Linked DNA regions of Homo sapiens: all the other regions are linked to region 2. The links are contacts of gene promoters, found by promoter capture Hi-C in human tissues and cell types (Jung and others, 2019). All regions are on one chromosome and are shown on one strand. Each heading gives the region's core, a stretch centred on a gene start or on the middle of the fragment in contact. The rest is flanking DNA. Distances are from core to core; before and after follow the strand shown. Region 1 overlaps ARMH3 (armadillo like helical domain containing 3). Region 2 holds the start of LDB1 (LIM domain binding 1). Region 3 overlaps ARMH3 (armadillo like helical domain containing 3). Region 4 overlaps GBF1 (golgi brefeldin A resistant guanine nucleotide exchange factor 1). Region 5 overlaps ARMH3 (armadillo like helical domain containing 3). Region 6 overlaps ARMH3 (armadillo like helical domain containing 3). Region 7 overlaps GBF1 (golgi brefeldin A resistant guanine nucleotide exchange factor 1).

Region 1 (3,719 bases), core at 169-2,668, 230 kb before region 2:
GAGAAAAGAGCCACTGGTGGGAATACTGAGAAGCTTGTCTATTAGGAAAAAGGCTTGCTTGGTGCTTCACTGGGAGAACTGAATAGCTTTGAGGAACACTGAAACACATGGTCAAATCATAGCTGGCTGGCTGGCTCTGCCAGCAAGAAGCTCAAACAAGGGTTACAAAGATGCACTGGCAAAAAAGGAAGAACAGGGCACATATGGTCTTCCTACTGGCTTGGGGTCTATACCCTGGCCCCTCCAATTTGGGAGTAGGATGAAAAGGAAAGGGAACCATGTGAATAGGATGTCTTATTTAGTGCTTTTTAAAAAAGGACTCAAGAGTTTCATTTTGACACATCAAGTTCAATCCCATGCCACGCTAACGCCTCATCTGTACTTTTATATAATGCAGAGCTGAGTGCAGGCACTCTGGGAGAAGGGGAAATCAGGCCAGATTTAAAGAAAACAAAGACACAAGGCTATCTGCATCTCTAACTCAGTCCATACCACAGAAAAACCTCCTCAAAAATAATTGCTCAAGGCAAAGAGAACTCAATTACTAAGGAAAATCTGTCCCAATGAGGGCTCATGTTTTAACGAGCCAAATAGCTTCAAATTAAGCTGAACTCAGGGTTTTTCTAATTGGCAGTTTCATCCATTTCTAAGTTCTCATTTCTTATTTTCAAAAATCAAAATGACTCTCTGCCTAAAATTTTAAAAAAAGAAATGCCTTATCACACTCTAAAACAAATAATTCACCAGATTTTCACCTACATATCTTCTATATAATTAACAAACCCTTCAGATGGCACAAACGCAGACAGCATCACTCTGTATTAAAAGTACTATCAACCAACCCCACACTAATTCCTCTCAGCAGCCTGGCCCTGGTCACTACCACAAAAGCTCAGTCACAGAATCCCCCTGCCATCAGAGAGAAGGCAACTGCTTGATCCTAGCCACCAACTAGGTCATCTGGGGAAAGTAGTGGCTTACCTGCTCCTCTGACAGTTGGGATATGTGATTCACAGCAGCGTAGGACTCAATTTTGGGGTTAAAGTGGTTGATGATGGCTCTGAAACAAAGAATTCGTATTAATATGGTGCCAGATAGAAGAGGTGGATACATCTGTTAAAAAATAAGGATCAAGTACCCTCTGGTTTAGAGTACTAGAGCATGGGACCGATTGTGACTGGGTAACTTCCTCTTATTGAACATGAGGTAGTCACAAATGGGGGTGAATTGATAACTCTGAAGTGGGAAGGATTTACTATTAGACAGAAAATAGAATCAAGCATCTCTGCTCTGCAAATGAACTAACGGAAAAAACCCAAAGCCAAACAAAAATATTGAGTCCTTCAGATGAGAAAGGGAACCCAGAGGGCTGTCCACTAGGGGGCCCTGGTGCTTCAATCAGAAAGAAAAGCTGTCTTGTCTGACTTGGGAGAACAGGGCACTCAGTAAAGCTGGGCCAACAACATATAGGCTAAATAGAAGCAATCTTCATACTTGTTAGTAAATAGTTTCAAACCAAAATTTTATATCCGGCCATTCAACCCAAAAGCTGAGTGTCATTTTAAAACACTCCCTTCTCCATCACTTAGTCACATCCAAAATTACCTAGTCTTATCAAATCTACCTCTTAAAAATCTCTGAAATCTGAAATAAATTTCCCTGAAACCAGTGCCTTGGTATAGGTCTTTGTCATTTCTTGCCTGGTGTAGCAAAAAGAACACAGGTTTTAGATCAGGGTTTTACATGAGTCCATATGAATATAAATGATTCATAGAGAGAGACAAATCTCTTTTTTTCATATATATATATATATTTATTTATATTTATATTTTAGACAGGGTGTCACTCTGTTACCAAGTCTGGAATGCAGTGGCACAATCATGGCTCACTGCATCCTTAACCTCCCAGGCTCAAGCGATCCTCCCACCTAAGCCTCCCTAGCAGCTGGGACTACAGGCATGTGCCAGCATGCCCGGCTAATTATTTTTGTATTTTGTTGGTAGAAACACGGTTTTGCCATGTCGCCCAGGCTCAAGCCTGGGCTCAAGCAATCCACAGGTCTCCACCTCCCAAAGTGCTGGGATTATAGACATGAGCCACAGCGGCTGGCCAACAAATCTTTCTCATAGAACAATTTCAAATAATATATGTAGATACTTCTCCCTATAGGAAATGAAGTTTATTTCTCATTCCTGAGGGTGGGCTAGATTTAGTGATTTATTGCCAAAGACTAGAGTAGCAAATGGGAAACACAGTAACTTTATAGCAAAGAAGCCTGGTAAACACTACCTTAACCAAATGATGAAGCTGTAGATTGCCAGTGATATCATGTAGATACCATGTAACCCTTGGTATGATCTGATGAGAAGGGCACTTAATATCTCAATCTAATCACAAGAAAAATATCAGACAGGGGACATTCTACAGGATACCTGACTGGTATTTTTTTTTTTTTTTTTTTTGAGACAGGGTCTCACTTTGTCATCCAGGCTGGAGTGCAGTGGCACAAACATGGCTCACTACAGCCTCCATCTCCTTGGCTCAAGCAATCCTCCCACTTCAGCCTCCCAAGTAGCTGGGACTACAGGCATGTGCCACCATGTCTGGCTAATTTTTGTATTTTTTGTAGAGATGGGGTTTTGCCAGATTGCCCAGGCTGGTCTCAAACTCCTGAGCTCAGGCAGTCCTCCCTCCTCACCTCCTAAAATGCTGGGATTACAGGCATGAGCCATTGCTCCTGACGCTGACTGGTAGTTTCTTTCTTTCTTCCTTTTTTTTTTTTGAGACGGAGTTTTGCTCTTGTTGCCCAGGCTGGAGTGCAATGGTGCGATCTCAGCTCCCTGCAACCTCCACCTTCCGGGTTTAAGCAATTCTTCTGCCTCAGCTTCCCAAGAAGCTGGGATTACAGGCCCCCGCCACCATGACCAGCTAATTTTGTATTTTTAATAGAGATGGGGTTTCACCACATTGGCCAAGCTGTTCTCAAACTCCTGACCTTTCAGGTGATCCACTCACCTTGGTCTCCCAAAGTATTGGGATTACAGGTGTGAGCCACCGTGCCCAGCCAGTACTTTCTTAAGACTCTAAAAGTCATGAAAAACAAGAGTTGAGAAATTGTCACAAATCACTGGGGAGATATGACAATTAAATGCATATCCTGGAATGGACCCTGGCACAGCAAGAGGACATTAATGGAAAAACTGGTAAAATCTAATTAAAATACGGAATTTAGTTAATAATAATGCCAGTTACTTAGTGTTGATACATGTACCTTGGTGACATAAAATGACGGAAATTAGGCTGAGGGTATCCAGGAACTCTGTGGATTATCTTTTTACTTTTTCTATAAATCTAAAATTATTCCAAAACAGAAAGTTTATTAAAATGGGTAGTGTGGGCTAGGCGTGGTGGCTCACGCATGTAATTCCAGCACTTTGAGAGGCTAAGGTGAGCGGATCACTTGAGCCCAGGAGTTCAAGATCAGCCTGGGTAACATGGTGAAACCCTGTCTCTACAAAAAATACAAAAAAATTTAGCCAGGTGTGGTGGCACACACTTGTGGTCCCAGCTACTTGGGAGGCTGAGGTGGGAGGATCACTTAAGCCTGGGAGACAGAGGTTTCAGTGAGCCAAGATTGTGCCACTGCACTCCAGCCTGGGTGACATAGTGAAACCCTGTCTCCCCGCAAAAAACCCCACCCAAAATCAACAACAACAACA
Region 2 (4,303 bases), core at 301-2,800:
CGACGGGGCCAGACAGGATTCCAGCTTGGCAAGCTCTTCCCTCTCCTCTCCCCAACCCTCTGCAGCAGGAGCCAGTGGTTCCCATACTCGGATATTCTAGGATTGTTAGGTTCTCTTATTCCTCCTTCTGGGACCCATGCCCCTTAGACATCAGCCTCAGCAGGCACCTGAAGTGTGTGCCCAGCCCAGCTTGGCCTGGGTCACATGATTTTCAAGGAAGCTTCCGCACTGGCAGCTTCCCTTGGGGATTTGTGGGGGAGTGGTGGGTGTCCAGCTGTGAAGTATGTAGCCAAAGCGGGCTACATTCAGGGACACTGACTTCCAGGAGAAAGCTGACTCCAGTCTGGGGCAGGAGGGCCAATTCCAGGACCCAGAGTCCCGGGGATGGAGACAGACAGTGTGCCGTGAGGCCCTCTGTAGACTACCTCTCCAGTCGCATGGCTTCTCTCTTTCCTCCTGGCAGTGAGGTAGACGCCCTCCGCCCCCCCCACCTGCCCCCCAGGAAAAAAACTCAGACCTAGGCTATCCCTGGCAAGAGCTGATATGTTTTGGGGAGGCAGGGATCTGAGCCTGGGTCCTCTCTCAAGTTCTCAGTTTTGGGTCAAGTATTGCTCCCCCAGCTTACCTCTCCACAAATCACTCTATTTCCTAGCCTGCCCTCCCACTAGGGCGGAGATGCCAGACCCAAGGGTCCAATTATCTGGCACCTCTTAGGAGTACCTCCGGTGCCTCAGGAGGGCCAACCTTCCCTGGCAACAGGCAGGAAAAGTTGAAGGTGGGGGGCAAGATGGGCCGCAATCAATACCTCCCTGCAAACAGGGTCCTCAGAAACAGCATGGGGGGGATGTCACAGGATAGGTAAGAGGCAATGGGCAGCAGGGAAGGGGGGGCAGCCCAAACCAGCCAATCACAACTCTATGGTGACCTGAGGGGGGGGGTCAAAAGTCCAGAGTCACTTCTGATTGGCTAACAACCTGGAATTCTGAGAATTTCAGCCCCCCCCAAACCTCTCCCCAATTAGCCTACCCCCAAAAAAACATACACATAAGCCACCCCCAGCGTCTCCTCCCCGTGTTTCTGGGCTGCTGCGCATTTACACAGTTGGGGAAAACGCTACCCGCCAGCCTGAGGCCCCGCGTAGCCCTTCCAGCCCCCGGCTTCCCCCATGCCATCGACGCCCCCCACACAAGTTCTCGCCAAACACGGGGTGAGGGGTCCGCAGGGACGGCTGGGCAGGAAGGGGCCGAGTGGCCGCACGCCCCACTCACCAGGACAGGCACAGCCCACTGACATCTTCACATCGCCCGCCTCTGGGGGCCCAGCCGAGTCACGGTGCCCGCCCCTCGCGGGGACAGGCCGGGCATGAGCCGCCGCCGCCGCCCGCGGCCCCCGCTGCGCTCGCCGCCGGCCCGGCCCGGCCTCGGCCCGGTGCGGGCGGCCCCTGGCTGCGGCGAGGGGCCTGTCAGGCGCGGAGCAGACAGGAAGGAAGCCAGGCAGGAAGGCGAGCGGCCTCTGCGTGTGTGCGCGCGGGTGTGAGTCCGCGGAGTGTGTGTCCGTGTGTGCGTGTGTGCGCGTGTGCGTGTGCGTGTCTGTGCGCTCCCGCCGCCGTCGCCGAGCGCCCCCCTCTCCGCCCTCGCGCTCGCGCTCCCTCGCGCCGGCGCCGGCTCCCCAGCCCAAGCCGGGCAGGGCCGGGCTTTATTAATATGCTAATTGTCCTGCTAGTGGGAGGGGAGAGCCGTGTCAAAGTGACCCGGGAGAGCGCGCAGCAAGCGACGACGTGCGTGCGCCGCGCGGCGGGCGGGCGGCGAGGGGCTGGGAGCGCTCGGGGAACGGCATGCATGTGACGCAGCTTTTAAAAAAGGAGACGGAGGCAGAGACCCCAGAGAGGGAGGGCGAAGGGGAGGGCTTGGAGGCGCAGCCGCGCGCTCGGTGTCCGTCCTCCGGGTGCCGCCGGATGGGGAGTCTGGCTGAGCCGGAGCGGGAGCCGCGGCTGGGGGAGGCGGAGCCGGGGTGGGCAGTGTGGTGTATCTCTCTCCACCCCGGGCCGCGCTCCGGGAGGGAAAAGGGACTGCAGACCCCCTGTCCGTGCTCCCTGCTGAGACGCCAGCCTTCTTCTGGAGGCCCCTTGTTTCGCGTCCCTACCCTAGGCTGGATGGGTAAAGAAGCATTCTCTTAATTCTTGTAGCAACCCCTCAACTCACCCCTTCCCTAAATTAACCACTCCTCCTTTGCCTGCGAAACCAGTTGGGACTAGAACTAAAAGGGTTAATTAAGTGGGGTCCCCGCCCTCCTCCGCCTAAGGGCTTGGGATCTGTGTTTTGCTGGGGGGAGGGGGCTGCGGAATGACCACCAGATTGGATTACGGAGGGGCGATAGGAGGCCATCCTTCCTTCTTGCAGACTGACGCATCAGTCAAGACACTCTCTTCCCTTCCCCCCTTTCTCCAGCCTTGGTGCCTTCACCTCCGTACCAACCGCCCAACCCCACCGCCTCCGACCCCCCTGCCTGGAAGCTGCTGTCCTTTGAGGGCTTCGGAGATGAGAACAGGAAACAGGCCCCTCCAGTGCCCCCTAACCCAGAGAGGCAGAGGCTGTGGGCCGTGGGGGGTTGGATGGGAGATGATGTGGATGGTCAATGTAAGGAACACTCCTTCCCCTGGGAGGAGCCTCCCAACCTTCAGTCACACTTCAAGGACTCCCCAACCCAGCCCTAGGAGGGGAGGGGCTCCATCTCCATCCCTTCCCAAAAGCTCAGCTTTAGCTGCCTCATAAACAGGAAATACCTATTAGCCAGGAGGAGGGAAGGGAGGGGAGCCGCCTGGAGTAGAGAGTTGACCCCCTCCCTCCTGGGGTCCCCAGCTGCTAGCTTTTCTTTCTTAAGTTTCAGTATGGGCTCCAGGGATAGACGATGGAGACTTGGACTAGTGTCTCCTCCCTAGGGCGTCTGGCCCTGACTGGGTAGGGGGTTCTCCTCTTTGTTACTTAGAGGGGTGTTGGTTGAGAAGGCTGTTTGGTTCCCTCACTCTGGCTCAGAGTCTGCACAGCTGGCTTGACTGGCTGGGGGAGGGTTACAAATGCGGAGGCTTAAAGTGTTTATGAGACCTCTTCTCTCCACCTTAGGTTTTTGCTGAGGGAGCATGAAATGATGGAACGGTGCAGAGTCCAGGGATTGAAAAGAAGGCCTGCCTAGGAATGGAGACCCTCCCCACCATGTGCTTAGGATGGGGGATAGGGGAGCTTGTACACTGTGGAGTCTCCCACCCCCAGGTTTCCCCATCTCCACCCCCACCAGGAGCAGAGAGGACCTGACTGAAGCCATCCACACTCACACAAGTATTTCCTTGGCAGCATCCCCTGCCTGAGTGCACCCCCTCCCTGCATTCTCCCAGACAAAGGTCAGCACTAGAGGGAGTAGAGAGAACATAAGGCAACAGAACACTGGCCCGAAATTGTGGATACCTAGGTTTGAACGCAAGATTCGCTCCTCAATACCTGAGTGATTTGAGACAACTGACCACCCCACCTGGGACACTAGCTTTATCCTCTGTAACCTATGGCTTGGTGAGTATCAAACTAGACAATGTACACCCAGTCACGTAGCCCAGTGTCAGCCAGGCAGTCCTGTAAATACGTGTTCTTTCTGCCCTTTTTTTTTTTTTTTTTTTAAGATTATCCAATTCCAAGAGAGGAGGGGGCTGGATTGGCAGGACAATTTGAGATGGTTTGGAGGAGGGGGAATACCTACCTTGACCTCCTTCTCTCTTTTCTGTCCATGAATTTGCCTTCCTCCAATCCTGTGACCACTTACGCCTAAGGCCACTCATTCCAAACAACTAGCTTGGTCAGATTCCATGCTGACCAACACAATGGTGATCATCTGGGTGGACAGGGGGACTACAACCCACCCTATAAAGGTCTTTGCCTCCTGTGAATCTGAGATTTCCCTCTCCTAGATTACACATGTGGAAGGTAGAAGCTTAGGAAGGAAGAAAAAACTGCCTTACTTGAGCATGCACTAATGCCAGGCACTGCCCTAGGCCTTTTACACTTGCCGACTCATTTACCTTTCATGAGGACCTTTGGAAGAAGGTGCTATTACCTCCATTGAACAAGTAGGAAAACTGAAGTTCAGAGATGATAATAAATTTGAACTTGCCTGTAAAACACTGTTCTCCCTCTTCTTCACCTACTAGTTAATGCTTCCTTAACACCTTAGTTCTAGCTTCACCTTCTCTGGGAAGATTACCCTTCCCACTCCCACTGACACTATAGCCCAGTTACCGGTAAGGAAATACCATCTCAGT
Region 3 (4,189 bases), core at 1,330-3,829, 140 kb before region 2:
AGGGTCGATTGAAAATGGTCTAAAATTAGTTTGTGGTAATAGTTGCACAACTCTGTGAATATATTTTAAAAACACTAAATTGTATAATTTAAAGCTGCTTAAAAAAAACTCTGTGGCCTACGTTTTCCAAATATTTGTCAAGATATGCAATTTACAGCTTTCACGGCAATGTTCATTTCATATATTCTATAACTAGGTATGCTTGGATTCTTGATTAAGCCATTAAATGTCCACTTTAATAGCCTATGTTAGGTGGATAAATTGATACTCTTCATTTGAGAGGATTAGCTTTTATATTTCCTATTTTCAATTTAAATTCACAAATTCAACATTCAATTAACTATGATCTCAGCCCTTAGAATCCCTAGTGTATAGAGGTTTCTAAATGGCCTAAAATGCAATGTCTTAACTAAATCCAGATTCTAAGTCTCACTTTGTCATATCCTCGCTGCCTTAAAAGTACTTAAATTAGGACTTTTTTAGTTAAGGGAGGGTTTGGTCAACCACAGGCCCAAGGCTTGGACTGTACCCCTCTGGAACTCCAGGCTCATCACACAAACCAAAAGGTTTAGAAGAAACTGTCAGACCTACCCTTTTCATTCATTCATTCAACAAATCTTGACTGTATACCAACTGAATGCTATTGCTTAAGTCTTATTATACTAAGCTATAAAGTTCCTAGAAAACTGAACCTAGGTAAACTGCTAGTTTCAGGTAAATGAAACCGGCTCCTCCTTTTGTCTTTCGGGGGTTTTGTTTTGTTTTTGTTTTTGAGATAGAGTCTCACTCTGTCACAGTGGCTGGAGTGCAGTGGCATGATCTCGGCTCACTGCAACCTCTGCCTCCTGGGTTCAAGTGATTCTCATGCCTCAGCCTCCTAAGTAGCTCGGATTACAGATGCCTGCCACCATGCCTGGCTGATTTTTATATTTTTAGTAGAGATGGGGTTTTACCATGTTGGCCAGGCTGGTCTCAAACTCCCAACGTCAGGCGGTCCGCCCACCTCAGCCTCCCAAAGTGCTAGGATTACAGGCGGGAGCCACCGTGCCCAGCCTGAGACTCTTTCAAGTTCTATGGCTATAACCCGAGACAAAGAATATCCCAAGACCCTACTGACTTTAGCAGACACCACATTAATCTGTGGGGTATCAATCTGACAGCTGACGGAATCAAGCTAAAATAGGGGTAGCTACTACTATAAAGACACATGCACATGTATGTTCACTGCAGCACTATTCACAATAGCTAAGACATGGAACCAACCCAAATGCCCATCAATGATAGACTGGATCAAGAAAATGTGGTACATATACACCATGAAATACTATGCAGCCAGAAAAAGGAATGAGATCATGTCCTTTGCAGCGACATGGATGAAGCTGGAAGCCATCATCCTCAGCAAACTAACACAAGAACAGACAACCAAACACTGCATGCTCTCACTCATAAGTGGGAGCTGAACATTGAGAACACATGCACACAGAGAGGGGAACAACACACACTAGGGCCTGTTGGGGGGTTGGGGGGTGAGGGGAGGGAACTCGGAGGATGGGTCAATAGGCCATGGCACGCATATACCTATGTAACAAACCTGCACATTCTGCACATGTAATCGTTTTTTTGTTTTTTTAAGAAGAAATAATGAAAAAAAAAGAAAAAGAAAAAAAACAGGGGTAGCTAATTTCTTGGGCTTCTTACCAGAGGAGAAAAGAAGAAAGCAGAGAAAACACTACTAACCTCTCTCTGCAGAATGAGAGCCAGAGACACCAGGTAGAGGAATTAAAATGCCTAACAACTGACCAGGCTTGGTGGCTCACGCCTGTAATCCTAGCACTTTGGGAGGCTGAGGCAGTAGGACTGCTTGAGGCCAAGAGTTCAAGACCAACCTGGCCAACATAGTGATAGCCCGTCTTAAAAATAAATAAATAAACAAAATGCCTAACAACGTACCAAGGATACAAGTGAATTGAACTAAATTTATAAGCTAAAGTCCTAAAATTACTCTTCTCCAGATATTTTCATAGCACTCCGAATAATAAGCCTCCATTGCTACCTTATTAGCTTATTCTACTTGCTCCATTATTCACATCTCTCTCTGTTCTTCTCACTCCCTAAGTGGTCTTGCAGGAGCCTCTCAGACAGAATTTAGTAAAAACTATTTAAACAGTACTCTCTTAAAAGACTTGGGTACAGGCCGGGCATGGTGGCTCACGCCTGTAATCCCAGCACTTTGGGAGGTAGAGGCGGGTGGATCACGAGGTCAGGAGATTGAGACCATCTTGGCTAGCACGGTGAAACCCCGTCTCTATCTAAAAATACAAAAAATTAGCTGGGCGCGGTGGTGGGTGCCTGTAGTCCCAGGTACTCGGGAGGCTGAGGCAGGAGAATGGCGTGAACTTGCAGTGAGGTGGAGCTTGCAGTGAGCCAAGATCGCACCACTGCACTCCAGCCTGGGCGACAGAGCGAGACTCTATCTCAAAAAAAAAAAAAAAAAAAAAAACAAAGACTGGGGTACCTTCAGCAGTGATATTAAAAATATTTTACAGGCCGGGTATAGCGGGTATAGTGGCTCACACCTGTAATCCCAGCACTTTGGGAAGCCAAGGTGGGTGGATCACCTGAGGTCAGGAGTTTGACACCAACCTAGTCAACATGGTGAAATGCCATCTCTACCAAAAAAAAAACACAAAAATTGGCCAGGAGTGGTAGTGCAGGCCTGTAATCCCAACTACTTGGGAGGCTGAGGCACAAGAATTGCTTGAACCCGGGAGGCGGAGGTTACAGTGAGCTGAGATTGCGCCATTGCACTCCAGCCTAGATGCCAGAGTAAGACTGTCTCAAAAAAAGAAAAAAACATGTATTTTACAAACCGTACAGAAAAATAATCTATAAATCAATACATACATGGAAAAATTTTAAGTCATTCCCTTTTATTCTCTAATAAACTAACCTTGTGATATTGTAAAAAGGGTCCCCAACACCCAGGCCATGGACGAGTACTGGTTAGAAACCAGGCTGCACAGCAGGAGGTGAGTGGCAGGTGAGCAAGGGAAACTTCAACTGTATTTACAGCTGCTGCCCATGGTCTGCATTACCACCTGAACTCTGCCTCCTGTCAGATCAGTGGCAGCATTAGATTCTCATAGGAGCACAAACCCTATTGTGAACTGCGCATGCAAGGGATCTAGGTTGTGGCTCCTTATGATAATCTAATGCCTCATGATCTGTCACTGTCTCCCATCACTCCCAGACAGGACCATCTAGTTGCAGGAAAACAAGCTTAAGGCTCCCACTGATTCTACATTATGGTGAGTTACAGAATTATTTCATTATATATTACGATGTAATAATAACAAATAAAATACACAATAAATGTTATGCACTTGGATCATCTCGAAACCATCACTGCCCCCAGATCTGTGAAAAAATTGTCTTCCATGAAACTGGTTCCTGGTGCCAAAAAGGTTGGGGACCACTGTTCTAAAATATATATTTGGTCTTCAACCCTGTTTCCTGACATACAACTCCTAAAATCCTTAGAATCTCCAAAGTGATGTCTGTTTGTATGTTGAGGTGACTGACGGCTGGCCTCCCCTAGGTAGCTTCAGAATGAGGGTTGGTCACCAGGGAGACCAAGGCATGATTAGCGAGCTGGGCTTTCAGCCCTAGCCCTGACTTCCAGGGAGAGAAGAGGGGCTGAAGGTTAAGTTGATTACCAATGGCCAGTGGTTTTTATTTTATTTTATTTATTTTTTGAGACAAGGTCTCACTCTGTCACCTAGGCTGGAATGCAGTGGTGCAATCACGGCTCACCGCAGCCTTGACCTCCACGGCTCAAACCATCCTCCCTCCTCAGCCTCCCAAGTAGCTGGGACTACAAGCACACACTACCACACCTAACTAATTTTTGTAGAGACAAGGTGTCACCAAGTTGCTCAGGCTGGGCTCAAGTGATCCATCTACCTCAGCCTCCCAAAGTGCTAGGATTACAGGCATGAACCATGGCCAGCCAATGGTTTAATCAAACATGCCTACATAATGAAATCTCCATAAGAAACCAAAAGTACAGGGTTTGGAGAGCTTCTGGATAGCTAAACACATGGAGGCCTACAGGAAGGCGAACAAGAATTCATCTACGTGCAGGGAGGTTGGCACACCCCAACTCCATGGGGTCAGAAGCTCCTGGGCT
Region 4 (3,695 bases), core at 636-3,135, 220 kb after region 2:
TGGGAGGCTGAGGCAGGAGAATCGCTTGAACCCAGGAGGCAGAGGTTGCAGTGAACCGAGATCACACCACTGCACTCCAGCCTGGGTGACAGAGCAAGACTCTGTCTCAAAAAGAAAGAAAGAAAGAAAGAAATATCCTTACTAGTGATGCCCCACTAGGAGTTCAACTTGCCCCCAACCCCACTTGTTGCAGAGTTGCTCCTGTTAGAGCTTCTCTTATGCTCCTGGCAATCAACAGTTGAACCTAGAGAGCAAAACTCTTGTTCTCCCTAGACAAAACTCTTTAAGGAAAGTTAACTTTATATATCATGATTCTCTTTTTTGGAAGAGGTAGGGAAGTGACATGATAATGAAGGTTCCTGGTGGGCTCATTAAAAAGTTTAACCCTTCTAGTTTTTCATCAGTAGGTTTCTATAAAGCACTGACTTACCAAATGAAAGTACTGGAATGAACATATCTTAGCAGTCATAGATTCCAACAACCTTCTTCTTTTTTTTTTTTTTTTTTTTTGAGACAGAGTCTCCTTCTGTCACCCAGGCTGGAGTGCAGTGGTGCAGTCTCGGCTCACTGTAGCCTCTGCCTCCCAGGTTGAAGCAATTCTCATGCCTCAGCCTCCAAAGTAGCTGAGATTACAGGCACGTGCCACCACACCAGGCTAATTTTTTTTGTATTTTTATTAGAGACATGGTTTCACTATGTTGGCCAGGCTGATCTGAAACTCGTGACCTCAAGTGATCCACTCACCTCGGCCTCCCAAAGTGCTGGGATTAGAGGTGTGAGCCACTGCGCCCAGCCGATTTCAACTATCTAATTTGACAGATGAAGGTCTTGGGTATCATATATCTGGCTATTGATAGGAGTGAGACTAGTCCATTGACTGAATTGTATGCTGTGTGAGGGTTACACACAGAGCCTCGGCTGGGTGCGGTGGCTTACACCTGTAATCCCAGCACTTTGGTAGGCCAAGGCAGGCGGATTACCTGAGGTTGGGAGTTTGAGACCAGCCTGACAAACATGGAGATACCCCGTCTCTACTAAAAATACAAAATTAGCTGGGCGTGGTGGCGCTCATCAGTACAGTGATGAGAGAAACCAAGAAGATCTGAATAATGGAGAGACATACCAAGTTCATGAATTGGTAGGCACAACATAGCAAAGATATCATGTCTCCCCAAATTGATCTATAGACTCAATGCAATTCCTTTCAAACTTCCAACAAGGCAAGTTTGTCTTAAATTGAAATGGAAAGGCAAAGGAATTGGAACACTGAATGATATTGGAAAAAAAAATGAAGTTGGAGGAATCACACCACTGTTATTAAGACTTAGTATAAGCCGGGCATGGTGGCTCACGCCTATAATCCCAGCACTTTGGAAGGCCGAGACGGGTGGATCACCTGAGGTCAGGAGTTCAAGACCAGCCTGGCCAACATGGCAAAATCTCGTCTATACTAAAAATACAAAAATTAGCCAGACGAGGTGGTGTGTGCCTGTAATCCCAACTACTCAGGAGGCTGAGGCATGAGAATCACTTGAACCCGGGAGGTAGAGGTTGCAGTGAGCCGAGATCATGCCACTGCACTCCAGCCTGGGTGACAGAGCGAGACTCTGTCTCAAAAAAAGACTTAGTATATATCGGCAGGGCACAGTGGCTTATGCCTGTAATGCCAGCACTTTGGGAGGCTGAGGCGGACAGATCACAGGGTCAAGAGATCGAGACCATCCTGGCCAACATGGTGAAACCCCGTCTCTACTAAAAGTACAAAAAAATTAACTGGGCGTGGTGGCACGTTCCTGTAGTCCCAGCTACTCAGGAGGCTGAGGCAGGAGAATCGCTTGAACCCAGGAGGCAAGGTTGCAGTGAGCCAAGATCGAGCCACTGCACTCTAGCCTGGGTAACAGAGCAAGACTCCGTCTCAAAAAAAAAAAGACTTAGTATATATTTATAATAATTAACACAGTGTCGTGTTGTCAGACTTAGACACATAGATCAATGAAACAGAACAGAACCCAGAAGAGACTCACAAAAATATGGCCAATTTAATTTTTATTTTTTGGAACAGGGTCTTACTCTGTCACCCCAGGCTGGAGTGCAGTGGTATGATCACAGTTCACTGCAGCCTCAGCCTCCCAGGCTCAAGCAATCCTCTCACCTCAGCCTCCTGAGTCGCTGGGACTACAGGCACATGCCATCATACCTGGTTAATTTTTTTTTTTTTTTTTTGAGACAGGATCTCACTTTGTCACCCAGGCTGGAGTGCAGTGGCACGATCTCAGCTCACTGCAGCCTCTACCTCCTGGGTTCAAGATATTCTTTCACCTCAGCCTCCCCAGTAGCTGGGACTACAGGTGCGCGCCACCATGCCCCACTAATTTTTGTATTTTTTGGTAGAGATGGGGTTTCACCATGTTTGCCAGGCTGGTCTTGAACTCCTGACCTCAGGTGATCCACCCACCTCAGCCTCCCAAAGTGCTGGGATTATAGGCATGAGGCATGAGCCACTGCTCCTGGTCCATGCCTTTTTTTTTTTTTTTTTTTTTTTGAGACAGAGTCTCGCTGTGTTGCCCAGGCTGGAGTGCAGTGGCACGATCTCCGCTCACTGCAAGCTCTGCCTCCCAGGTTCACGCCATTCTCCTGCCTCAGCCTTCCTGAGTAGCTGGGACTACAGGCTCCCGCCACCACGCCTGGCTAATTTTTTGTATTTTTAGTAGAGACGGGGTTTCACCGTGTTAGCCAGGATGGTCTCGATCTCCTGACCTTGTGATCCGCCTGCCTCGGCCTCCCAAAGTGCTGGGATTACAGGCGTGAGCCACCACGCCTGGCCGTTTTTTTAATTATTTTCTGTAGAGATGATCTCACTATGTTGCCCAGGCTGGTCTCGAACTCCTAGACTCAAGGGATCCACCCACCTCAGTCTTCCAAAGTGCTGGGACCAGTGCCCAACCTGGTCAATTTATTTTTGACAAAGGTGCAAAGACAACTTAATGAGATATGTTGGAAACAGTAGGAAATTCTTAGGCAAAGGAAAAATGAGCCTCAATCTAAACCTCACACCTTATGCAAAAATTAACTGAAAATAGATCATAGGTGAAAAACATAAATCTGTAAACATTTTAGGAGAAAATGGGAGGGTGGAAATCTTTGTGACTTGGAATTAGGCAGAGTCAATTTAGACATTAAACCAAAACACAATCCATAAAATATTAATAAGTTGGACTTCATCAAGAGTAAAAGTGTCTGTTCTATGAAAGATGTTAAGGGAATGAAAAAATAAGCTTAAGACTGGGAGAAAATACTTAGAAATAACTGTATCACTACTGAAGGACTTGAATTCAGAATAAAGAAGTCTCCAAACTCAATAGTAAGAAAACAATTTAGTTTAATAATGGATAAAAGACTTGAGCAGACATGTCACCCAAAAGGATATACAGACGGCAAATAAGCACATGAAAAGATGTTCAACATAATTAGTCATTAGAGAAATGCAAATTTAAACCACATGGAGCTACTATTACATACATACTTGAATCGCTTAAGTAAAAACACTGAAATACAAAGTACTGAAGAGGATGTGGAGAAACTAGAATTCTTATTGCTAGTGGGAATACAAAGTGATAAAATGACATTGGAAAAGAGTTTGACAGTAAAGCTAACCACACCTTTACCTTTTGACCCAGGAATCCTACCCCTGGGTA
Region 5 (4,131 bases), core at 1,507-4,006, 250 kb before region 2:
TACGCCAGCAGGCATGAAAATCTTGCATTTTTTGCAAAATACCTTTTTATCTTGTATTGAAGATGCAGCTTTTATGTGGATGGAGGATTGCTGTAAGAAAGGCATACCTATAGACTCTAATGTGATTAGAGAAAAAGTGAAGTCATTATATGACAACTTAAAGCAAACAGGAAGGTGAAGAATTTAAAGCTGGGGAACTTAATATCAGCAAAGGATGGTTTGATAATTTTGAAACAAATTTGGCTTTAAAAATGTCAAGATAACAGGAGAAGCAGCCTCTGCCAACCAAGAGGCAACAGATGAATTTCTAGACACTATTAAGAAAATCACTGAGATAGCAAGACCCTGTCTGTCTGTAAAAACAAACAAACAAAAACAAACAAACAAACAAAAAGAATGAACAAAGAAAATCACTGTAGACAAAAGTACCCTATTCTGAAAAAAAATTTCTGCAAAAGACATTTATTAGTAAGGAAGGAAAGTGACCGACAAGATTTAAGGCAGGAACAGTAACCCTGCTTTGTGCAATTGCAATTGGGTTTATGATGAGGAGTGCCCTTATCTATAAACCTTTAAGCCCTGAGTCTTGAAAGGAAAAGAAAAACACCTAGTTTTTATCTTGCTAATCTTCTGCTAGTCTTCTTGTTATATGACAAGAAGGCCTGGACAACAAAAACTCTTTTACTGGATTGGTTCCATTGATTCTGTCTCTGAAATCGCAAAGCACCCTGCCAGTAAGGAACTGCCTTTTAAAGTTCTTTTGATACTGTACAATGCCACTGGCTACCCATGACCCCACGAATTCAGCACCAACCATGGGTGCCCCAAAGATGTCTCTAATTCAGCCTCCAAATCAGAGGGTCATAAAGACCTTTAAGGCTCATTACATATGGTACTCTATGCAAAGGACTGTCAATGCTGTGGGAGAAAACCCAATTGGAGAGAATATCATGAAAATCTGGAAGGATTACAACACTGAAGATGCCATCACTGTTACAGAAAAAGCCATGGGCGAGGTGCAGTGGCTCACACCTGTAATCCCTGCACTTTGGGAGGTCAAGGTGGGAGGACTGCTGGCATCCGGGAGTTCAAGACCAGCCTGGGCAACATAGTGAGACCCCACCTCTACAAAAAATAAAAAATTAGCTGGGTGTGATGGTGCATGCCTGTGGTCCCAGCTACTCGGGAGGCTGAGGTGGGAGGATCACTTGAGCCCAGGAGGCCAAGGCTACAGTGAGCAGTGATCACGTGAATGCGCCCCAGCTTGTATGACAGAGTGAGACCCCATCCCAAAAAAAAAAGAAAAAGCCATGAAAGGCTGGGGGTGGTGTCTAATGGCTATAATCTCAGCACTTTGGGACGCTGAGGCAGGAGAATGGCTTGAGGTCAGGAGTTTGAGATCAGGCTGGGCAACATAGTGAGACCCTGTTTCTATTAAAAAAAAAAAAAAAGAATTGGAAAAAGCCATGAAAGTCATCAAGTCCAAAACAACAAATTTCTGCAGGAGAAAACTGTGTCCAGATGTTGTGCATGACTTCACAGGATTTACTACAGAGTCAAATCAAGGAAATTACAAAAGAGGTTGCAGATATGGATCTTGGAGAAATTCCAGAGCTAACAGACACAACATCAGAGGAATAAACAGAAGAAGACATGAGGGAGATGCGTTCTTCCCCAACCAGTGCCAGACAATAGGAAGAAGACATAGAAGAAGCAGAGCCAAGAAACAAATTGACATTAGACAATCTGGATGAAGGTTTCCAATTATTCAAGACTGCTTTTGACTTCTTTTACAACATGAACCATTCTATGATACAGGCAATAGAACTAAAGCAAATCGTGGAAAAAGACTGGTACCATATAGCAACATTTTTCAGAGAAATAAAAAAGTAAAAATGTTAGACAGAAATTATGATGGATTTCCACAAAGTTAGTTATACCAAGTGTGCCTACTTCTCCTGCCTCCCCTTTCCACCTCCTCCACCTCTTCTGCCTCTGCCATCCTTAGACAGCAAGACCAACCCCTCCCTCCCTGTCCTCCTTCCTCCTCCTCAGCCTACTCAACATGAAGATGATGAGGAAGATCTTTATGACCCACTTCCACTTAATGAATAGTAAATACATTTTCTCTTCCTTATGATTCTCTTAATAACATTTTCTTTCCTCTAACTTTATTGTAAGAGTACAGTATATAATACATATATAAAATATGGGTTAATCAACTGTTTATGTTATCAGCAAAGCTTCTGGGCCAGGCACGGTGGCTCACGCCTATAATCCCAGCACTTTGGGAGGCCAAGGCAGGTGGATCACCTGAAGTCAGGAGTTCAAGACTAGCTTGGCCAATATAATGAAACCCCATTTCTATTAAAAATACAAAAATTAGCCGGGTGTGGTGGCAGGCGCCTGTAATCCCAGCTGCTTGGGAGGCTGAGGCACAAGAATCGTTTGAACCCGGGAGGCAGAGGTTGCAGTGAGCCAAAATTGTGCCACTGCACTCCAGCTTGGGAGACAGAGTGAGACTCTGTCTCAAAAAAAAAAAAAAAAGAGGTTAAGCTTCTGGTCAATAGTAGGCTATTAGCAGTTAAGTTTTTGAAGAGTCAAAATATGCAAATTTTCAACTGCACAGGGGGCCAGTGCCTCTAACTTGGGTGTTGTTTAAGGGTCACCAGCAGACAGAAAATAAGTAAAGAGAGAATATTTAAAAGCTACCAACATACTTAACTTCTAAAAGCGATTTATAGAAAACAACTCAACAACAAGGGAACACATTCTTTTCAAATGCACACAGAACATTCAACAAGATGGACTGTACAATGGACCATAAAGCAACTCTCAATAAATTTAAAAGGATTGTAATCACACTGAGTATATTTTCTGACCATCAGGGAATTAAATATGCAATTAGTAACAAAAATATATCTTGAAAATCCCCAAATAATGGAAATGAAACACATTACTATATATCACCAGAGAAATGAGAAAATATTTTAAACTGAATGAAAATGAAAACACAACCTACCAAAATTTGTGAGATGTTGTTAGCACAGGAAAAATTTACAGCTCTAACTTTTCATATTAGAAAATAAGATCTAAAATCAATGACCTAAATTTCTACCTTATGAAATTAGAAAGAGAGCAAATTAAATCAAAGCAAACAGAAGGAAATAATACAGATAACCATATAAATCAATGAAAAGGAAAAATAACAGGCTGGGCATAGTGGTAACACCTGTAATCCCAGCACCTTGAGAGGCTGAGGGGGGTGGATCACTTGAGCTCAAGAGTTTGAGACCAGCCTGAGCAACATGGCAAAACTCCATCTCTACAAAAAATACAAGAATTAGCTAGGTGTGGTGGCGGAAGCCTGTAGTCCCAGATACTCAGGAGGTTGAAGCCAGAGGATCACTTGATCCTGGGAAGTGGAGGCTGCAGTGAGCAGAGATTGCGCCACTGCACTCCAGCCTGGGTGACGAAGTGAGATCCTGTCTTAAAAAGAAAACAAAAGAAAAATAACAGAAAACCAATGAAACTAAAAGCTAATTCTTTGAAAGATTAATAAAATTGACAAACCTCTAACCAGGCTGATAAGCAACAGAAGAGAAAAGACACACATTACTCATATCATGAATTTGAGAGGGCATCACTATAAATCCTACAGGGATTTCAAGGAACAGGGAGAATTTTATGAACGAATTATGCCAATAAATTCAACAACCTACATAAATGAATAACTTCCTTGAAGACACAAATGATTAAAACTGGTTCAAGAACAAGTAGTAAACTGACTATTCCTAAATCTATTAAAGAAATTCAACTAACAATTAAAATGTTTTCCACAGAAGTATACTGATATATGCATTTTACTTTGAAACACATTAAAAAAAGATGGATTGATGGATGGAGATCTATCCTATGGGTTATACATGTGATAAAGCAAGTAGAGTGAAATGTAAATAACAGAATTTAGGTGAGGGTTATGTGGCTATTCACCATATAATTTTTTCCAACTTTACTATATGTTTGAAATTTTCCCTAATAAAATATTGGGTATAAATTCTTCCCACAAAGAAAACTATAGGTCCAGATGACTTCACTGATTATGCTACTAAACATTAAGCAAGAAATAAA
Region 6 (3,942 bases), core at 314-2,813, 160 kb before region 2:
AACCTCAATAAAGAGACTGACTGCCAAGTCCCTAGTTTAGCAGTGCAGCTTCAGACATTTTTGCAAATAAATATTAAGCATAAAAGAAGTTATCAGTTACCTTATACTCATTCACCTAGCACATTTTGTCCATGAAATGAGTCCTGCTTCTCTGCCCATCTCAGATAATGCCCCTGTACCTACCTCCCCTACTTGATGGGATACTATAAAGGGGTTCAGCAGCTGCAGGCAATCTGTGGTCCTTCTGTCTTCTCCCCCACAAACCCCCACCTTCCACAGACCCAAGAAAAGGCTTGACCTCTCTTTTTCTAGGACCATATCTGCTTCTTTGCCAGCAAAGAAGTTCATTCTCCCATGCTGTCAGAGTTTTGTGTGAAGTTTACTACTCTTAAAGTAGAGATGTGAGCTTTGATTTGGAACAGCAGGGAATGATGAGTAGGAGTGAGACTCTCCAGACTCTTGCTGCCTACCACACAACACCCCTCACTCTCAATCCTTTAAAAGCACAGGTACAGTAAAGAAACAGCAGGCAAGGAAAGTACAAGAGGCTGGCTTCACCCACATTCTGTTTCTAAAGCCTGAATCTTCCCCTCAAATAGTAAAAAAAAGCCTTGCCAGGCATGAAGGAGATAGGCATCTTCATTTATAAACTCTTTACCCCGGCCCCAACTTGAGTTCTCTGGGGTTTCATAATGAAAAGGCAAATGATAGGCAGCTGGCCCTTTTAATGGTGTCTGTTAAGTGATCAAGTATCTGTTGGACTGGGGGGACAAAAAGGCTCCAAGGGAGCCCATTCAGGATCACACAACCTGCTTAGCTCCTACCAGGAGCACAGGAATAATGGGGCTAGCTAAAATTCACATAAAAATGACTAACCCAAACTTCCCTCCTTAAAGAAGATCACCTTGCTGAGTGAGCTACGTGGGGGCTGCCCACCCCACCACCTAATCCCCAGAGTTTAGACAAGCCCTGTTAATGATATACTACCTGACAATCGGACTCTATAAAATCATAGAGGCGAGAGAAAGGGATGGGCAGCACGCTTGGCACTCTGCAAAACGTAATGGCTAGAGACAAAGCAGCTTTTGCACACATCCCATCAACAAGGGCTTTTGTCCCCAGGACACACAGCACAGAGATGCAGCCTCAGCAGTGGCTATGTGGTAATTAAAGGGCAGGAAACCTGGAGGAAAGGATGTGGGAGCAATGATTTATTGCTCCTCTGCTGGACTACAGCTAGTCTTGATCTCTGGGATTCAGAATCCAGGATGACAAAGTGAGAAATATTAGAGGAGGAAGAGAGCAACTCTGGCACGGGCAACCTGTGTCCCAACTGCCACAGGCATTAGCGGAGCCAGAGTATTGAAAGGGAGAGTCCAGTACCACAATACTCTGAGAGTCAGTGCCAGAGTGGCTTGCATTCTGCCCCTGAAAATGCAGGTCAGATATTCTGCTCCCCCAAGAACCAAGGTCTTCTCACTTGGAAGTAAGAATTCTCTACAGGGGCTGGGCGCAGTGGCTCACGCCTGTAATCCTAGCACTTTGGGAGGCTAAGGCAGGCAGATTGCCTGAGTTCAGGAGTTCGAGAACAGCCTGGGCAACACGGTGAAACCCTGTCTCTACTAAAATACAAAAAATTAGCTGGGCGTGGCGGTGTGCGCCTGTAGGCCCAGCTACTCGAGAGGCTGAGGCAGAAGAATTGCTTAAACCCGGGAGGCGGAGGCTGCAGTGAGCCGAGATCGCACCACTGCACTCCACCTTGGGCGACAGAGCAAGACTCCTTCTCCAAAAAAAAAAAGAACTATCTACAGGGAATTTAATAGGCAACTAAAATGAAGCCTCTGACATCACAGATGGTAATTCTTCTTCAAGAGAGAATGTCCCAAATATCCCATGAAATAGTGCTTTTCTCCATCATAATCTCCTTGACTTTGCACTCACTATATCAACTGTTCAGTGTCCTATACACCACTACACACAGATTCTAGCCTCTGACCTGATATGATGGGAGTTTTAAGTCTGTGAGGCTTTGACATAGCTGATTATAGATTTTTAGAGCTAGAAAATGCCTTAGGTCATTTAATCCGATTTCCTCATTTTTGGATAAGAAAACTCCATGCCCCATTCCACCCTCACCCCAAACTAGCTGGTGACTAAGCTGGGACTAGGACCTTGTCACCTGTTTAGTGTTCTTTCTACCATGCCATTAAGAAGATAAGCCAGGTACAGTGGCTCATGCCTGTAATCCCAGCACTTTGGGAGGCTGAGGCAGGCTGATCATGAGGTCAGGAGTTCGAGACCAGCCCGGCCAAGATGGTGAAACCCCGTCTCTACTAAAAAATACAAAAATTAGCCAGGCACGGTGGCGGGCACCTGTAATCCCAGCTACTCGTGAGGCTGAGGCAGGAGAATCGCTTGAACCTGGAAGGCGGAGTTTGCAGTGAGCCGAGATTGCACCACAGCACTCTAGCCTGGGCGACAGAGCAAAACTCCGTCTCAAAAAAAAAAAAAAAAAAAGAAGATTAAACAAATAAAGGTGCGAGATCAAGCTGAACGTGAAAGTGGGGTTACAGCTTACTATAAATGGTGTGCTTAGATCTGCTGACTATACTGTTATCAGCACTTCTCTAGACTCTGGTTTATAACTTTCTCCACCTGTTGGCTGCTCTACGTCATTTTCATGTATTTGGTCCCCATTTTCCCTTGGTCCTCAGCTACCTGTTAAAGTACAAGTATTTAATACCTCATTATCGCCTTCCTGTCACTCACTGGCAACACAAAAAGACTCCCAGAAGCTTTGCTCAGCACGAGCCACCTCAGCAGGCCTCTCTGCCAGCTCCTTGGCCTGCTCTCTGCTGTCTTATCTACATCTCAGCTCTCACCTCCACCTCTCTATCCCTTGTGGCTGCTTGCTCTCTCTTTTTTTTTTTAAGCACATAACTATCAACTAAAACTGTTCCTAATTCCCTCAGTCAGTGTTGCCTTCTTCAAAATTAGGTACTGCCAATGGAAGATGATTGGATATGGACATTAAAGGGAGCCAAGATCCCCTTTCTTTAGAAAAAATCAGAACCAAAACAAAAAAATATGGGTATAAACAATTAATAACCAGGTTTATTTATAAACTATTATGGACCGAGCTTTGCACAGGGTTTATGCCAAAAAAGACAGGTTTAGGCCAAAGAAGAAAATGCCCTGTGTCAGGAGCAGTTTCAAGGACAGCAGAGAACTGGCACTCAGGATCTCAGTGCCAACACAGAGCTCATGCTAACAGGCTCCTGACTCACCCCCTCTACATACACACACATTTTTAGAAAACTGCCCTTGATCCACTTGTCCACTTGATGTCATCTGGGCACATGACCAGCCAAATTGTTCCAAGGACACTCACAGAAGTAGCAGTACATACAGGGAAGAATTAAGATAACTAAAAAATAAGGGGATGATTGCATAAACATAGTACGGTTAATCAGTCATACATCTGTAAGACTTTGCAATCAAGTACAGTAAATGTTGCAGTCATGAAGATATGAGGGACAGGATGTACCATTTAATTTAATCCTTTGCCTTATCATGTTTCTCATTGTTAAATAATAGTTTCTAAAATGAAGTGGGGCAAAAGGGCTAATACAGGATTCTTCACCAAAGGCCTGACTCCTGGTCTGAGAGATTTCCAACGAAGCATGACCTTATGGTATAGAAACTTAACACTGTGTAAACAGCTTTGCCCATTAGGTGAGCAATGGCTGCTCACTCCCTCAAAAGAGAATGGCATAGCTTGTCGCAGAGAATATCCTTTTGGGTAAGGGCAAGCTTGGTAGTTGAGACTTTCCAAACCTGAAGAGATAATGCCCATGGGCCCATACTCCACATCCCTGGGAATGCGCTGTCCCAAAATACCAACGTGAAGAGACACATCACAGAGGAATGCATCATTTCCTC
Region 7 (4,324 bases), core at 1,708-4,207, 150 kb after region 2:
ACATTGTTCTTGGTTTTTAGCATATTACCTGCCTGAGAAAATGACAGAATAGACCTAAAATAGAGCATTTATGGTCTTCATATTGCTTCTGACCCCACACACAGTGCCGGCTCCCAGGAGCAGGTTTATGGGTCAGCTGTCCCTGTGGTCCTGGACTCTGCAACCCATGACTAATTTCTTGTTTCTTTTACGGAAACAAACAGATTTTTCTGATTGGCAGTGTCAGGAGGACTGCTTTCCTGGAAGCTTATTAATGGTAGGAGGCTGGGAAAGGGTTTTTAACTTGGAGAGAAAACTGAAGGGAATGTGCTTGTGTTAGATGACCAGTTAAGGTGTACCACTTAGATTGGAGGAGGGATAGCAGGAATTCTAGGACTTCTACCCAGTTTCTCATGAAACTGACTTGGACATGGTCCTTTTTTGCAAAGGGTTTCTGTTTGCATTTTTCTAGGCTTTCTGCTGGCTTGATTGGTAAGACTATCACTGTTGGAAATGGGTGGTTCATTGGACATTGTCAGTAAACCAAAATGATTTTTTTTTCTCTTTTTGTAGAAAGAATCTTTAAAATGTATAAGTACTACCTACACTACTCCTCCAGGAATATTATCTCATTATTGTGAAGGAAATAAGTCCTTTTCTCCAGTAAGGTTGGCTAAGTCCATACTAGTTTTTCTCACAGATGTATGTCATTGGACCACATTTACAGTCAGTATTTGCCTAAACTGTATGATGACTACAAGGTCTATAGCATTTAGAGTAATAAGATATTCTAATAATACCAAATTTGAAAAGAGGGTTGCTCTTGGAAGAAAAAGGGTGTCCAAGAGCAAAGTTTGCATACTGTTACTTTGGATAAAGCTTTAGCTTACCACCAGTGAGAGAGACTTGACTGCTGTCCCTCATTTGGTCTTGAAGTCCTCTCAGGACTCCTTTTAGATTATTCTGAAGGAGTTAAAACAGATGTGTGGTTACCAGGGGCTGGGAGGGGGTATGGAGAGTGACTGCTAATGGCTACAGGGTTCCTTTTTGGGGTAATGAAAATGTTCTAGAATTAGATAGTAGCGATGGTTGCACAACTTTGTGAGTATACAAGAAACCACTGAATTGTATACTTGAAAAGGATAATTTTATAGTATGTGAATCATATCTCAGTTTATAAAGGAGGCAAATGTAGGCTGCAGAAGTGATGGATTTGCCAGTTTTTTCTCAGGTCTCAGAACTGTGGAGGGAAGTCTCTGTAGTCACTGCTGTGCTTTGGACCCATTACCCAGCAAAGGCAGCATAAGGCTCTGTTCAGCTTCTGGCCCAGTTTGTCCTTTTATGTCTCTCTCATTAACTCAAGGAAGCACATGGCTTTTATATTTAAATTTATTCAAACTGTAATCTTTGACATTTGAGTTAGCTTTTAGTACAGTTTTGCATTTATAGTAATATATATTATGTATTTTCTCTATCCCCAAAGAATCCGTTTTAATCTTTTCCGGATGCAAATTTCAGGCTGTCTTGTCCCATCTTCCCTCTCTTGCTCTCTTTCCCCTCCCCCCACGGAGTGTGTTTGATCAGGTGTGGCAGGAATATCCACTGTCAAGCTGCGCCCTTTATATTAGTCAATATTATCCTTCTCCCCCCTCCCTGTCTGTCTGCCCCTTTGGGCTTTCCCAGTTGATTTATAATTTTGGAATTCTCATTGGAGTCTGTAATACAGTTTGTTCATTATTTAACCAAAACCTGTTTAATGAGCAGAGAGAGGCAATGTAAATGTTAGGCATGTTGCAGTGATGTACCTTTGTGCTTCTCAGAGCGGGTGGGTAGTTAACTCTGTGCTGCCTGCAGGGCTGGGGTGTCCTGGCCTTAGGGGCAGAAGGGCCACTGCCTCTCTCTTACATCTGCCCAAGCCCTGCCATGGGTTTAGATTCCAAAGACACATTTCCTTTTATTCTTCTAAGAATCTTTTGGGGCTCTTGCATATGGGAGTTATCTTCAGTCTCGCAGCTAGACCTTGTGGTAGGATCTGTGGCATGGGATGGGGCATGGAAGGGAAAGTGAAATATCAGGATACTTGATATTGCTCTTGGTTTTAGATCTGACAAGAGTAGACAGTTTATGGGAATGCTTCTAGCCAATATGGTCTGTGGTCTTTGATCTCTTTGTTCCCAGACTAGATAAATTCTTGCAAGCCTTAGTTCCCTTCATCCAGTATAGCTTTATGGAAAGGGCTATAGTCAGTTGTGAGTTGTGGTGTTTGGTTGTAGTCATTTGCCTCCAGATATAGTCTGTCTTTGTCCTTGGTCTTTAAACTTAGATCATTACAAAGAGATTCTTTTCCAGAAAATTTTTGGTTTAAAACAGGAGAGGAACAGTCTAAAAGTATCACAACCAGGCTAGGTGCAGTGACCCACATCTGTAATCTAGCACTTTGGGTGGCCAAGACAGCAGGATTACTTGAGGCTGGGAGTTCGAGACCAGCATGGGCAACATACCAAGATTCCCCCCATCTCTACAAAAATAAAAATAAAAAAAATTAGTTGGGTATGGTGGCGTACAACTGTAGTTCCAGCTACTTAGGCTGAGGCGAGAGGATCACTTGAGCCCAGGAGTTCGAGGTTACAGTGACCCATGATTGCGCCACTGTACTCTAGCCTGAGTGACAAGAGTGAGACCCTTTCAATGAATGAATGAATGAATGAATGAATGAAAGAAAGTATCACAACCAAAATCTTCTCTTATGGGATCATCTTTTAATGACTTACTTTAAAGCCTTCAGGGCCAGGGCTTGAGGAAGACTTCTTAGGGTGTGCGTGTGTCTATGTGCGTGTGAGGGTGTGGTGGTGAGGAGTTTGCCTTTGGAGATTTAGTCCCAGGTCTTTTTAGCTCTGAGGACCTAATGTCCAGTTTTGGTTATCAGGACTGGGGTTCTCAGTGTAAGACTAAGGTGGAGGGCCGGGTGCGGTGGCTCACGCCTGTAATCCCAGCACTTTGGGAGGCCGAGGCGGGCAGATCACGAGGTCAGGAGATTGAGACCATCCTGGCGAACACGGTGAAACCCCGTCTCTACTAAAAAAATACAAAAAATTAGTCGGGCATGGTGGCAGGCGCCTGTAGTCCCAGCTACTCGGGAGGCTGAGGCAGGAGAATGGCCTGAACCTGGGAGGCGCAGCTTGCAGTGAGCCGAGATCGTGCCACTGCACTCCAGCCTGGGTGACAGAGCGATACTCTGTCTCAAAAAAAAAAACTAAGGTGGTCTTGAGGCCCAGTATAGGTACCCATATTAACTATAACATTGTTCTAGCTTCTTAGACCTTTTCTTTTGGGGATTCTCCAAGATTTGGATTCCTTCAGGGCCTAGCTTATTGAGTTGCTTCTAACTGATATTTATTGACTATCTGGTATGTGCCAGGCATTTTTCTTAGGTACTTAGGAAGTGGGTCTGTAATGGTAAACAATCAGTCAGACTTCCTGCCCTCATAGCCACTGGTTTGACAGGACTAATGACTCTAGCTGATCATTCCAAAGCTAACATTTTGTAGCCTCTACTTTATGCTATATGGTCCCTATCAGGCATGGAATGGATGACCATGAGTGAGAGCAATCTGCTGCCAGCTTTTCTTATTCCTGCTCTTTCCTTAAGGAACAAGCCAAAGAAATAAGTAAAAACAATAGCTCATATTTGCTTATTTGGCTTTCACATGTAAAGCTGTTATGGCCAGAGTTTAGCTATTCCCAAAGACATTGGTGGGTTGCATAGCGTAATTCTGGGGGATAGGATATTTCTTTACAGAGCTTACTGGGACAGCAGGTTATGGCGTGCTTGAGTTTAAGAGGGAGAAGCACGTGCCAGGAGAAAGTGGATGTGTCAGGAGTTTATTTAAGTATAGTTTATCCTGGACAAACACACCTGTAGGGTACTGTCTGTCTCAAGCTTTGTGAATTCAGAGTCTGAGCTAGGAGGTTTGAGTCCATCTAACCTCCAGAGGTTTGCAGAGAACATTTAAACAGAGTCTGGAAGCCAACTTGGGAGGAACTATGACTTAACACCTGTCTGGCCTGGGCCTCTTAGCAGTAGCCGCTTAGGTAGAAAAGAAACTGTTTGAGAATGCCTGATACCTCAAGTTTAATCTGTTTCATTTGGAAAATGGGGAGGTGTAGAGAAAAGAGATTTTAGTAGTCATTGTCAGGAAAAAGATTGAATAAGAGTATATTATATGTGCCAGGCATGGTGGCTCACACCTGTAATCCCAGCACTTTGGGAGGCTAAGGCGGGTGGATGACTTGAGGTCAGCAGTTCGAGACCAGCCTGGCCAACATGGTGAAACCCTGTCTCTAC

The links. The method cuts DNA at HindIII sites, captures the fragments that hold promoters and counts their contacts. A contact is called where the count stands out against the background at its distance.
Region 1: a contact is called between a fragment that was not itself captured here and the fragment with the promoter of LDB1 in region 2, in 2 of the 25 tissues and cell types used here (hippocampus and mesendoderm cells).
Region 3: a contact is called between a fragment that was not itself captured here and the fragment with the promoter of LDB1 in region 2, in 1 of the 25 tissues and cell types used here (IMR-90 fibroblasts).
Region 4: a contact is called between a fragment that was not itself captured here and the fragment with the promoter of LDB1 in region 2, in 2 of the 25 tissues and cell types used here (hippocampus and mesendoderm cells).
Region 5: a fragment that was not itself captured here is called in contact with the fragment with the promoter of LDB1 in region 2 in 3 of the 25 tissues and cell types used here (mesenchymal stem cells, neural progenitor cells and thymus).
Region 6: a fragment that was not itself captured here is called in contact with the fragment with the promoter of LDB1 in region 2 in 1 of the 25 tissues and cell types used here (IMR-90 fibroblasts).
Region 7: a fragment that was not itself captured here is called in contact with the fragment with the promoter of LDB1 in region 2 in 2 of the 25 tissues and cell types used here (IMR-90 fibroblasts and lymphoblastoid cells).

Annotation. Positions count from the first base shown.
Region 1 is chr10:101,888,431-101,892,149 of GRCh38, forward strand. It overlaps ARMH3 (armadillo like helical domain containing 3), which reads right to left. Exons shown (of 26, transcript NM_024541.3): 24 at 982-1,060. Among named protein-coding and RNA genes, the nearest start is that of KCNIP2, 46 kb to the left of the region's middle. The HindIII fragment of the contact is 5,467 bases long and covers 1-3,719 here.
Region 2 is chr10:102,118,818-102,123,120 of GRCh38, forward strand. It overlaps LDB1 (LIM domain binding 1), which reads right to left and starts at 1,551. Exons shown (of 11, transcript NM_001113407.3): 1 at 1,269-1,551. The coding sequence starts at 1,293. It also overlaps a transcript of PPRC1 not described here. RefSeq lists silencers at 1,191-1,260, 1,351-1,430, 1,491-1,790, 1,811-1,940 and enhancers at 1,437-2,188, 2,189-2,940, 2,941-3,690. The HindIII fragment of the contact is 10,982 bases long and covers 1-4,303 here.
Region 3 is chr10:101,979,545-101,983,733 of GRCh38, forward strand. All of the region lies in intron 19 of ARMH3 (armadillo like helical domain containing 3), which reads right to left. Among named protein-coding and RNA genes, the nearest start is that of ARMH3, 75 kb to the right of the region's middle. The HindIII fragment of the contact is 5,754 bases long and covers 1-4,189 here.
Region 4 is chr10:102,337,749-102,341,443 of GRCh38, forward strand. The region is part of intron 3 of GBF1 (golgi brefeldin A resistant guanine nucleotide exchange factor 1); the gene reads left to right. Among named protein-coding and RNA genes, the nearest start is that of NFKB2, 56 kb to the right of the region's middle. The HindIII fragment of the contact is 4,292 bases long and covers 1-3,695 here.
Region 5 is chr10:101,866,541-101,870,671 of GRCh38, forward strand. The region is part of intron 24 of ARMH3 (armadillo like helical domain containing 3); the gene reads right to left. All of the region lies in intron 2 of LOC101927445 (a long non-coding RNA gene), which reads left to right. Among named protein-coding and RNA genes, the nearest start is that of KCNIP2, 25 kb to the left of the region's middle. The HindIII fragment of the contact is 4,841 bases long and covers 337-4,131 here.
Region 6 is chr10:101,958,392-101,962,333 of GRCh38, forward strand. The region is part of intron 20 of ARMH3 (armadillo like helical domain containing 3); the gene reads right to left. Among named protein-coding and RNA genes, the nearest start is that of ARMH3, 96 kb to the right of the region's middle. The HindIII fragment of the contact is 3,481 bases long and covers 1-3,304 here.
Region 7 is chr10:102,263,018-102,267,341 of GRCh38, forward strand. All of the region lies in intron 3 of GBF1 (golgi brefeldin A resistant guanine nucleotide exchange factor 1), which reads left to right. Among named protein-coding and RNA genes, the nearest start is that of GBF1, 20 kb to the left of the region's middle. The HindIII fragment of the contact is 6,652 bases long and covers 1-4,324 here.